Regions from separate parts of the Homo sapiens genome. Here regions 1 and 3 are each linked to region 2. The links are contacts of gene promoters, found by promoter capture Hi-C in blood cells and fetal thymus (Javierre and others, 2016). All regions are on one chromosome and are shown on one strand. Each heading gives the region's core, a stretch centred on a gene start or on the middle of the fragment in contact. The rest is flanking DNA. Distances are from core to core; before and after follow the strand shown. Region 1 holds the start of AMBP (alpha-1-microglobulin/bikunin precursor). Region 2 holds the start of COL27A1 (collagen type XXVII alpha 1 chain). Region 3 overlaps COL27A1 (collagen type XXVII alpha 1 chain).

What was found. Contacts are between HindIII fragments. The CHiCAGO score rates a contact against its expected background, and 5 or more counts as called.
Region 1: a contact is called between the fragment with the promoter of AMBP here and the fragment with the promoter of COL27A1 in region 2, in 1 of 17 cell types (endothelial precursors). The highest score is 7.3, in endothelial precursors.
Region 3: a contact is called between a fragment that was not itself captured here and the fragment with the promoter of COL27A1 in region 2, in 1 of 17 cell types (endothelial precursors). The highest score is 7.3, in endothelial precursors.

The regions. Positions count from the first base shown.
Region 1 is chr9:114,076,910-114,080,719 of GRCh38, forward strand. It overlaps AMBP (alpha-1-microglobulin/bikunin precursor), which reads right to left and starts at 1,391. Exons shown (of 10, transcript NM_001633.4): 1 at 1,184-1,391. The coding sequence starts at 1,300. LOC107987120 (a long non-coding RNA gene) reads right to left here. Exons shown (of 3, transcript XR_001746905.1): 2 at 3,789-3,810; 3 at 3,031-3,693. The HindIII fragment of the contact is 5,279 bases long and covers 1-1,984 here.
Region 2 is chr9:114,153,354-114,157,242 of GRCh38, forward strand. COL27A1 (collagen type XXVII alpha 1 chain) reads left to right here and starts at 2,184. Exons shown (of 61, transcript NM_032888.4): 1 at 2,184-2,659. The coding sequence starts at 2,598. It overlaps LOC105376225 (a long non-coding RNA gene), which reads right to left and starts at 915. Exons shown (of 5, transcript XR_930256.3): 1 at 1-915. RefSeq lists an enhancer at 1-512 and silencers at 2,049-2,168, 3,056-3,350. The HindIII fragment of the contact is 6,106 bases long and covers 1-3,889 here.
Region 3 is chr9:114,253,546-114,257,114 of GRCh38, forward strand. All of the region lies in intron 27 of COL27A1 (collagen type XXVII alpha 1 chain), which reads left to right. Among named protein-coding and RNA genes, the nearest start is that of MIR455, 46 kb to the left of the region's middle. The HindIII fragment of the contact is 5,623 bases long and covers 1-3,569 here.

The sequences.
Region 1 (3,810 bases), core at 141-2,640, 77 kb before region 2:
TCAAGGGAGGCCAGATCCCTAAGAGTGGCGTTTCAGGCATCACAGCGAACCCAGGAAGCAGGTGTGCGGCTGGGGTCCCAACCTGCCCTGCAGAAGGGCTAACTCTCTCAAGATGTGGGATCTGTCCATAGCTCCATCAACCACTGCTCCCCAAGAGCTGGAGTCCTGTCTTTTACTCCTCCAATGATGGGGTGCTCCCCACCTTGCAAGGCAGCCCACAGCCCCATGTTAGGAATTATTTCAAAAGTATAATGAACATGATGGGGTCATTCAGGATAGGCCTGCTTCCTCTTCCTCCTGAAAGTGCACGGGACAGCTGAAGGAGCCCTCAGGCTCCTACGGAACAGGCCAATGTGCCCCACACCCTTTGCGTCCCAGACTGCCACAGGGACCTGCTCCTCATTGCCCCTCTGCCACGACCTTTCCTTGTCCCTAAAAGTAAACAAAACCCACATGACACCACAGCTAGAAGGTTCTGAGACCCTTCATACAGACATGGAGACAGCCCCAGGTGGGCAAGGGTATTCTCAAAGCCACCCCGGGATTTAGGGCAGAGTGGGGGCTGGAAGGCAGCTCTGGCACTCCACACTCACAGGAGAGTGTCCTGCCCCAGTCCAGGTCTCTCCTTGTGCCCAAGCCTCTGAATGTCTCCCAACCCTAATCTCTGTCCTGCTTCACCTCTTCCCATAAGCCCCACATGCCCAACCCAAAAGCTGCTGGCCACATGCCCACGCTGTGCCACCCCAGGTGTCTGTCCACAGTCAGGCCAGGATGTGGGCAGGGGACACAGGAAGAGCTAAGGGAAAGATGCCACAGAGAGAGGGGAGTCATTAGAGAAGGAAGGGCTGGGAGGTCTGGGCAAAGCTAGGTGTCTGCACGGGGGCTGCAGGGCAGTGGCAGGCAGGACAAAGCCTTCTCTGGAGCAGGTTCCCATTAACACAAGGGTTCCCCTTGGAGCCCACGAGGACAGTGCAGAAGGTGAGGATGTTTGACTCATAGAATGTCAGCCAAGAGACCCACGGAATGGCAGGGGATAGAGCTGTACCTTCAAAGGATCCCATAATCCCAGATGATCTGAGTGGAAGCCTGAGACCCCGAGACAGGCCGCACTTGCCCAGCAGGGCCCATCTGCCTGGACTCCCCATCACCACATCCACCCTACCACAGAGAGCGGCAGCCTTACCCGAGAGATATTGAAGTTTTCCTGCACTTGGATGTTGTCGGGCGGCGTTGGCACAGGGCCAGCGCTCACCGCCAGGCAGGCGCTCAGCAGCAAGAGCAGGGCCCCGAGGCTCCTCATGGCTATGGGCTCCTCTGCCTTGGTATATCCCACAGGCTCGGTCTAGCAACAGAAGGGCCACCGCCTCCCTGCAACAGGGCAGCTGTGAACTGAGGCTGGGGAAGGGGCCTGTGGCTTGTAGTTGACCTCAGTGTTTGCCCTGCTCAGCTGGGGCCAATTACAGCCCCAAGGACAGCTCCAATCGATCCCTGTAGCCTGGCTGGGGTCAGCAGTACCAAGAGGCCGGGATGGCTGCTTCAGAAGAGGCATTGGCCAAGCACAATAGGGCCCTGGAGCACCAGGATTGGGCTCCGCCCCCCAAAAGTCCCCCACAGAGGGCATGCGAGGATGGGGAGCGACCTGGCCTTTCTGCTGAGTCATGCCATCTGGACCTCACAGCTCTGTGAGCCAGCAGGTCAAGCCTGATTGGGCCCATTTCTCACAGGAAAAAACTGAGGCCCAAGGAGAGGAAGTGACTTGCCAGAGACCTCAGGGAAGTCTATGGGCAGAGCCAAGACCAGAACCCAGGTATCCTGTCTCCAGAGTTCCTTCTCCAGCCCCCAGGCTTGCCCTAGCCTTTGCAAATAATAGAGACATTAACAATGATGACTGTTACGAGCTTCCGTTCACTGAGCACCTGCTATGTGCTGGCTGTGTACCAGGCACTTTACACGTGCCACAGGTGTCCAGTAAATCCCCACAACAAGCTTACGAAGTAGGTGCTATTTGTCCCCTTTACAGGCAGAGGAGTTGAGTCTCCAAGAAGTGAAGTGACTTGCCCAGAATCCCTCAGCCGGGAGTGGAGTAGCTGGGAAAGGCGTGGTAGAGACCATGGACGTGGGAGCCAGGCAGCCTACAGTGGCACTCACTGCTGTGTGACCTTGGGCAAGTCACTTTACCTTTCAGTGCCTTGGTTTCCTCATCTGTAAATGGGGATAATAATAGTTCCTAGCTCCTAGCATTGTTGAGTGAGCACCTGCAATGCGCTAGGACAGTACCCAGCATAGAGTAAGAGCTGAGTGTTTGTGGTGGGTTGAACAGTGCCCCCTCCAGAATCCATGTGCACCCCGAACCGCAGAATGAACCTGATTTGCAGATGTGATTAGTTAGATGAGGTTGAACTGGATGACAGGGGTTTTAAATCCAATGACCGGTATCTTTATAAGAGAATGGTGAGGGAGACTCAGACACAGGGACACAGAGAGAAGCACGGGGAAGATGTGGCGTGACGCCGAAGGCAGAGATGGGAGGGATGCAGTGACACGTCAAAAATCACCAAGGATTGATGGCAGCCACCAAAAGCTAGCAAAAGGCAAGGAAGGACTTTTCCCCAGAATCTTCAAAGGGAACATGGCTCTGCTGAAAATTTGGTCTCAGGTGTCTGACCTCCAGTGCTGAGAGAAGACACATTTCCTAGCAGCCCTAGGAAACTAATACAGTAGTTATTAAACTTAAGGTTTTATTTATTTATTTATTATTTTGAGACGGAGTTTCACTCTTGTCGCCCAGGCTGGAGTGCAGTGGTGCGATCTCGGCTCACTGCAACCTCCACATTCTGGGCTGAAGTGATTCTTGTGCCTCAGCCTCCCGAGTAGCTGAGATTACAGGTGCCCACCACCATGCCTGGCTAATTTTTGTATTTTTAGTAGAGACAGCGTTTCACCATATTGGCCAGACTGGTCTCTAACTCCTGACCTCAGGTGATCCTCTCACCTCAGCCTCCCAAAGTGCTGGGATTACAGGCGTAAGCCACTGCGCTCAGCCTAAATTTAAGATTTTAAATGAGAATTTTTTAAAACCCAGGTCCGTTGTCTGTGAGCTCACACTCTTGCCAGCAATACCAAAGGCCTCTCTATGAATTTCCCTTCTCCAGTGGTTAAATCTACTGTCCTTACTTCCTCCCTGCTCTTGGCATGGAACATTCCATACTCTCAGCCACCTCTCTGTTAGAGCTGGGAATGACCCCTTCGGGCAGGCAGTCCCAAGATTAAGACCCCTGCTTATGTGAGAATCAAAGGATTCCCCCATGTAGTCAGTGCAGAAACAAATGGTGTATCATGTCCCTTCTGTAAGATTCAGTCAGTACATCCCTCTTTCACTGGTATCCAGAACAAGTGTGCTTCTATTCATAAATGTGTTTCCTTTGCTCCGTCACCCTAACCTTGGCCAGTGATTATATTCCCTTCTTGCTTTGGCTGCTAGGAAGCTCAAAGCCATGATGTAAGTTTAAGCACAGTTACTGTCTTGGTTTAGCTTTCTGGGACAGTTATCTTCGTGTTCCTTGTGTTCACAAAGTTTCTCAATCTTTGATGTTTTAGTTAATGATGGTAATGAGGAGGTGGTAGCCCCCAACTTCTCCTTGTTCTGCATGATATTGGAGGTGGCTTTCCCTCGCTAAAGACCACTTTCCGTATCTGTGAACGGAAGAAAACAGTTCTTGTTCTGTCTGTCAAGAGGCCAAGAGAGACAATGTGTGAGGAAGTGAACTGTAAACTGTCCACTGCCTTACCTGTGTGGTGGCTCAGGGGTGT
Region 2 (3,889 bases), core at 934-3,433:
TGGACTAGGGTGTGGCACATGCAGAGATGCAGCATACCAGGAGATGCCAAGAAAACTCAGCAACGGAGGTAAATTGCCCAAAGCAGTGCCCCAAACCCCTAAGTAATCAAAATAATATTTTAATTTTTTACTTTTAAAATATTTTTAAAAGTATCAAAATTAATGCAAAACCCCACAATGAACAAAATATCTAAAATGTAAATAAAGACAGGGTCTGCATGGTACCAAGTATGCAACTAAAAAAACATCAGTTATGATTGAAGAGGGAGTTCTCAACCTTAGGGGGCCGTGGACTTCTGAAAACCGGAGGAAAGCCCACGGCCCCTCTCCCCTGAAGAATGCACAAACATGCTCAATTTGTGCACAGTTTGGGGGTGTTCCTGCACTCCCTGGGGTTCGTGCACATGGAAGTTAAGAACTCTGGTTCAACATTGGGGGTGCGGGGGTGGCGGGGGTGGTTCCACGCGCCGGCCAGCAGCCTGCCAGTTCCCCAGTCCCGCGACTGGCCTCCCTCCTGGCAGCCATGGGTGCTCTGCCCTCTGCAGGAAGCAGCGCACAGCTATGCAGCTCCCCCAACCCCCCTACCTCCCCTCTCTCGGCTTGGGACTTTTCCTAAAGTTTGTTGAAACCAGACACCTTGCTCGACCGAGCCCGCGTGCAGCCAGGGTTTAAAAGGCCGCCTTCAGCGCCCCCTCCCCGCCCCCAGCGGAGACTTCAAAAGGCCCGGCGGGCGCCGCCGCCCCAGCACCTATGAGCCGCCCCCAGCTCTCGGAGCCCGCGCCGGAGCCCGTGGACGCAGAGCTGCCGAAGTTCGAGCGCAGGCGGACCGGGTCGGCGGCGCAGTCCCGCGCGCCCATGCCCCTCCCGGTGCCGCTGCGCTCCGCGCGCCCGCGCCCCGTTTAGGGAAGGGGACCTCGCCCCCCGCCCCCGCGCCCACGGCTGCGGGGACCCATGAATACAAATGCCGTTAGGCGCCGGAGGAAGGACCGACCGGCCAGCCTCGCACGTAGGGACCCAGTAAGTGCTTGGGGGCTCCTGGAGCGGTGCGAAGTGTTATATGCCTGTGTGTGCGCGCGCCTAAAGGTGTGCGCGTATGGGGAGGTGGGTACACGCGTGAGGAGTGAATGCGTGTGTGCACATGTGCGGTGGGCACTCTCGGAGAACTGTGTGCAAGTGAGGGTGTGCGCGCGTGTGTCCACCCGGGGTGTGTACATGTGTGGGGGCGATATGGCCAGGATAGCGTGCATTTGTGCCTGTGTAAGCATCCGTGTGCATGCTTCTGCGAGTGTAGAGTATCAGCGTGCGCCTGAGCCCAGATATCTGAGGATGCGTTTCGTGTGAACCTAGGAAGGGTGCGTGGCTGTCCCAGAATGGGACCGTGTGTGAGCGTGTGTCTGAGTTTGGGGAAAGGGTGGATACGTGTGGGAGTGTGTGTGTGCACCGGTGAATAAGTGTAACTTTGCTCGTGAACGAGTGGCAAGAGGTGGTAGAGGCGGAGGGAGCTGTGGTCCCAGGGCTGGACTGGAGTTTTGGGTGTGAGAATTTGCCCGGGGGCCAAGGTGTGCAGCTCTTAGCTCCCGGATGGGATCCGAGGGAGTTTTTGTCGATTCTGGGGAGGTGCGTGGTTAGTGGTGGTGGTGGGGTGCGGTTAGATTCCAATTGCTGACAGAAGGGAGAGAGAGGGTGGCAAACCCTTAACAAGCCCACCCTATATGTTCTCCAGGGCGCTCCGAGTCTGGGAGCGCAAACTTTTGGTGGGCGGTGGGGATCACGATACTGGTTGTCGTGGGCGTCTGGACACCAAGTTCTGGTCCTAGCTCCGTCCCTGAAACTGTGGGTTTCTTCCAGGAGTAGAATTTGGCCCTTCTCCCCTACCCCAACCCCCCATTGGAGGACCCCCAGCCTCACCAGTCAGAAGTTCCTAATCTCAGAACGGTGATCAAATCACCGTGAAGCCCTGGGCAGCCCCTTCCTCTCTGTGAATCTGTTTCCCCATCTATACAAGGAGGAGGGGGGCGGGTGTCCCATCGGGGCTGTAGTGGGCCAGCTGAGGCTGTACCCTTGGCTCCGGCCGGCAGGGGGCAGCAGGGGGCAGCAGAGGGCGGCCGGGAGCGGGGAGGAGGGAAGGTGGAGAGCCACCGCGGGCCGAGACTTTAAATCGCCTTCATTTCCCCCAAATCCTTCCTTTTCCTCTCCTCCCCCAGGCCGGCGGGGAGGCAGCTTCCACCGCCCTCCGCGCGCCCTCACCCGGCCTTGCTCTGCCTCCGGGGACCGCCAGCAGCCCGCCTCCAAAAGTTTGATCATCTCTCTCTCTCTTTTTCTTGCTTCTTCTTCCTTTTTGGTGGAAGCAGAAAAGGACCGAGGCAGGGGCGAGCGCGGCGCCCGGACTCCTGGGACCATGGGCCTGGCGCGGGCGCCCGCGGGGCCCCAGCCGCGCTGCCTGCCTGCTCGGGCGCCCCTGGGCGCGGGGCTGCGCTGGGGGCGCGGGGGCCGCGCGCTCTAAGCCGGCCTGGCGCGGCGGGGCGGGGGGCTGGCGGCCCCATGGGGCGCGCCCACACTTGCCCCCCGGGCTCGGGAGCATGAAGTAGGGGCCTGCCATGGGAGCGGGATCGGCGCGGGGGGCCCGAGGCACAGCGGCGGCGGCGGCGGCGCGCGGGGGGTGAGTACGAACTCGGGGACGCCCCCTCCCTAGCTTCCTGCTGCTCCAATCTCGGGGAGGGCCGGGGTTCCCCGCCATGCGGTCGCTTCCAGCGGAACGTCAGCTTCCTGCCCCTTCCTGCGCCCCCGCGAGGCGGGACGCCAAGGGTTAATAGGGGCTGCGCCCCCGGCCGGGCGAGAGTTGGCGAACGCTGCCCGCCCTGCCGCGCCTGGCCCGGCTGCCCGATCCCGTTGGGGCGGGGGCAGAGCCAGCCCGGGGGTCGGGGGTGGGGGTGGGTGGTGGCGCCTGGAGCGGCCGGCGGGGTGCGGAGGGGGGCTTTTTGGATGCTTGGGGGAGGAGGGGGGTCTCCGTTTGGGGCCGTCTCGGTGTGTTCCGGTGTCTCAGTGTCTGCAGGTCCCAAGCCTGTACGTCTCCGTTTCTATCTGTTCTTGTGAAATTGTCCGCAAGTTTCTAGGTCACCAGGTCTCGGGTTCTGCTCCTGTCTCCGTGTCTGTGTGGCTCTGCACGTCCCCGCGTTTCTGGAAATCTCCGCGTGTTTGTGTTAGTCGGCCTGGGTCTGTGTGTCTGTGTTTCCTGCTTCTCGGTTCCTGTCCCTTTCACGTGTGTAAGAGAGAAAAAGTGAGAGCCAGCATGTCAGAGCAGAAAGGGCCCTGGGCGATCACTGTGCGGAACCCCTCAGTGTACAGATCGGGAGACAGGGCCGGAGAGGGGCAGGGACTCTCCCAGGAGCGGCTGCGCGGAGCTGGGGCCCAGAGGCTGGGATTCCCAGCGTGTGGAGTAGGAGTTGTAAGAGAGAGTGAGCCTGTGCTGGAGCCGGCGCAGCGTGTGGGTGTGTGTGGGAGCCAGCAGCATGCAAGCAGCCCGTTGGGGCCTGTGGACGGCGCTCCTCTCTTTCCATCCTGCCCCCAGGACACCAGGACACTCCCCAGAGGCTGTTAGGGCTGTAGCTGGGCCCTGCCCCCTTTGAGCTGGAGTCCGCGGGATGACACCCCCTCCTTTCTTCCCCATGTCTTGGAAAAAGCTGGCTGTTTGCGATTCCCCCGCCCCGCACCCCCTCACCACAACACACACACACACACACACACACACACATACGCGCGCGCGGCACCAGTGAGCACACTGCTGACTCATTTTCTCCAGAAGACCCTGCGCCAGGGTAGATGCCAGCAGTTGGGCAGAAAAGTGGTGCCAGGCGAGCACCCCATGGTGGGGCTCCAGCTGTGGGCAAGT
Region 3 (3,569 bases), core at 851-3,350, 100 kb after region 2:
AAGAATAAGGGTTAGGAGTTCAAGCCTCAGAATCAGACAGACCTGGGTAGAATCCCAGCTACACCACTTTCTGACTATAATCCTGGGGCAGATCTGACTGTATTCCTGGGGCAGATCATTTAACTTCTCCAAGCCTGAATTTTGCTCATTTGAAAAACAGAAAAAAGAATCATGGTCAGGATAGTGTGATCGTGTGGGTTAAATGGAAGCGTGGGGCTAATGTTCATTACAGAATGGTGTTTGTTCCCTGGAAGCATTTTGGTTATTAGCAGCATTATTGCTTTTGTCCATTCACTCATTCACTCTGTAGTTACTGAGCGATAAGTGCTTGTGGGCAGTTTCAGGAGCTGGGTGAAGGGGCCCAATCTCCACTCACTGCAACCTCCACCTCCTGGGTTCAAGAGATTCTCGTGCCTCAGCCTCCCTAGTAGCTGGGATCACAAGCGTGTGCCACCACACCCAGCTAATTTTTGTATTTTTAGTAGAGATGGGGTTTTGGCAGTTCCAGGAGCTGGGGATGTGGCAGCAAGAAAGGTAGAAAGTGGTCCCTTCCTTTGGAGCATGTAGTCTGGTATGGGGGGGCAGGGTAGATAGAACCCAGTAAGTGATGTCTGTTCTGGAAGAGCAGGCACAAAGATGGGAAATGCTGGACAAACAGGGCTGAGGGTCCTCAGGGGCCTGGGCTTCTCATGATGACTGAGGAAGCAGGGTTGGTGGGAGGCTCTCAAGGCAGAGTGGTGGGAGAGGCTGGGAGAGCTGGGGGAAGGGTGCGGCCAGGAGCACTCAAGTTCAAGAGCCCCTTCTCCTTCCCAGGGGTGATGATGTGCAGGGGGTGGGGGTGGGCTTGCTCTCATTTGGAGCAGGTAGAACTTGCTTCAGATCCCTGTTTCTGCCAATGGAGGATGGAAACTAGGAAAGGGCACTCGCTTCAGCCAAAGCCAGGGGTCAGGGCTGGGAGCCCAGTCCGAGGTGGGCTTGGGGAAGTTGGGGAGGGTGTGGGGGTAGAGGGACCAGCCCAGGCACAGATCCGGAGGTAGGGCTGAGGGGCGATGAGCTCAGGTTGCCTGGGTGTCTCCAAAGTCCAGACTGAGGAGTTCCCTGGGGTCTGATGAGGAAGGGCCCTGAAGCCTTTCATGGTTTGAACCCAGGGGAAGCTCGCATAAACCTGTTCTCTACTGTGATTAGGGAAGCAAGGCCAACTCAGCTCCTACACTTTTTCATGCACCTGCTGTGTGCTAGCATAAGCTCCTCCCTGGAGGTACAAAAATGGTAAGAAAGAGTTCCAGCTCTTAAGACTCTCACTGTCTGGTGGGGCTGTCAAGTATAAACATTCTCTCCATCATTAACAGACTTTTATCGAGCACCTACTCTGTGCCAGGCCATGCCAGGGGCCGAGGAGGTAGAGGGGTGGACTAGTCCAAGGGTGAGAGGCCTGGATATAGGTGACCGTCACCCAGAGGAGAAGGCATCAGCACCAGGGGTCTCTGTCCATCCTCATGATTCTTTGGACAAGTTGGAACGTTCTTGAGGAGCACAGTTGGAAGCAGAAGCCAGCACTCTGGGCTCCCAGTGACATATTTTTGCCCTTTTCATGAGAAGGAGGAAAAGTCACATCTGGCCCAGGGCTGGAGGAGCTGGCAGTGTGGAAGTAGGACTGTTGGGGTAGAAGCAGGGGGTCAGAGGACCAGCATTCTGGTCAGGGGGCTAGCACGGCTGGCCGAGGCACCCAGCTTGGAATGCAAGGGCCCGGCCTCCCTCCCAGTGGTCAGAGATAGAGTGATTGGAGCCCTCAGCATGGGGGGTGCCCAGAGTAGGGCCGAAGCCTGAGTACAAGGATGCTGGGGGTACATCATCGAGTTCTATCCCTGGCACCCCTGCACCTCAGCCGTCCTGGGCCTGTCTCCCCATCTGTCTAGTGGGAGGAGGAAAGCCAGGAAAGGAGTCACTGGGACACAATGGAAGGCCAGCGGGAGATGGGGAAAGAGTGGGGATATTCAGGCCAATACAGAGAAGAAGGTGCAAGCCTCCTCTGAATCCCTTGCCTCCCTGGCTCCACTCACCTCCCCACCCCACCCCATCTCCTCAGTGCTTCCCCCTCTTCAGTGGGTTGGCTCAGGCTTGGTGAAATCAGACGGTCACTTACTGCTGTTTCTGATCCCAAGGTTGCCATGGTCCCCCACTGCTACGGTACAGGGCTGGTCCCTTGGATCTCTTGGGGTTCCTCCTGGCCAGCGACACTGGGGAAGCCGGCTAGCTCGGAGGCCCAGAAAACCACCTTCAGAATCAGATACATGGGGGTGAAATTCTGGCTCCCCGACTTGCCGGCTGCGGGATTGTTGGCAACATTCATAGCTTCTCCGACCCTCAGTTTCCCCATCTGTAAGTCAGCATGATGCCACCTGGAGTATGAGATTGTCATCGGAAATGGTGCAGTGCATGATGTGGTGTCTCACAGCCCTCCTGCATAACTGTGTGCTTCATGAATGGTGATAACTATTTGTTAGAGATGATCATTGCCACTATTATGAGTAAGGCTACTACGATTAAAAGTGACATTTCTGGTGATATTGTTCACACCTGATTGGCATTTTCCCACTTTATCAATCACTTTCACCTCCATGTTGTCCGATAGCACATTGAGATCTATCAAGATTATTATCCCCAGGCCAGGTGCAATGGCTCATGCCTGTAATCCCAGCACTTTGGGAGGCCGAGGCTGGCGGATCACGAGGTCAGGAGATCAAGACCAGCCTGGCTAACACGGTGAAACCCCGTCTCTACTAAAAAACAGAAAAAAATTAGCCGGGCATGGCGGCGGGCACCTGTAGTCCCAGCTACTCGGGAGGCTGAGGCAGGAGAATGGTGTGAACCTGGGAGGCGGAGCTTGCAGTGAGCCAAGATAGCGCCACTGCACTCCAGCCTGGGCGACAGAGCAAGACTCCATCTCAACAAAAAAAGATTATTATCCCCATTATTGGGGGTGGGAGTGAGGCCCTGGGACCTGCCTAGGGTCGCCCTGGGACCTGCCTAGGGTCACCCAGTGACCAGAGTTGGGTCTAGCATTCAATTCTGACCTCCTCCTGCCTTGCGAGAGCAGGCAGCTACCTTTTCCTGAGGACTTTGTCACTTCACCTTCTAGAAACTCTAGGGGGTAAGGACTCTTCTATCCCCATGTTATAGATGACAAAACTGAGGCCCAGTGAGTTGAAGTAACGTGCCTAAGATGGCACAATTAGTAAGTGGCCAAACTGGCATGTGAGCCCGGGTTCTCCAGTGCTACAGCCTGCTCTTTTCAGCACTCTATGCCTTGATGTAGAGACTTGGCTCCCGAAATTTCCCAGCGGTGCATTGCATGCCTTCTGAGCTCTGAGATCACTCTATAAAATGGCCCATTCTCACCCAGTCTTTCTGTTCTCCACCATCCGGGAGTCAGAACTGCCTTTTATGGGGCCAAGCCCGGGTCCACACCCTGCTTGCTCTACTGACGAAGGGTCAGCCTGGGACCCAGCCCCTCACATCAGCCCCTCCACAGCAGCTGTTGGAGGGTCTGCTGGGTGATAGCGGCTGGG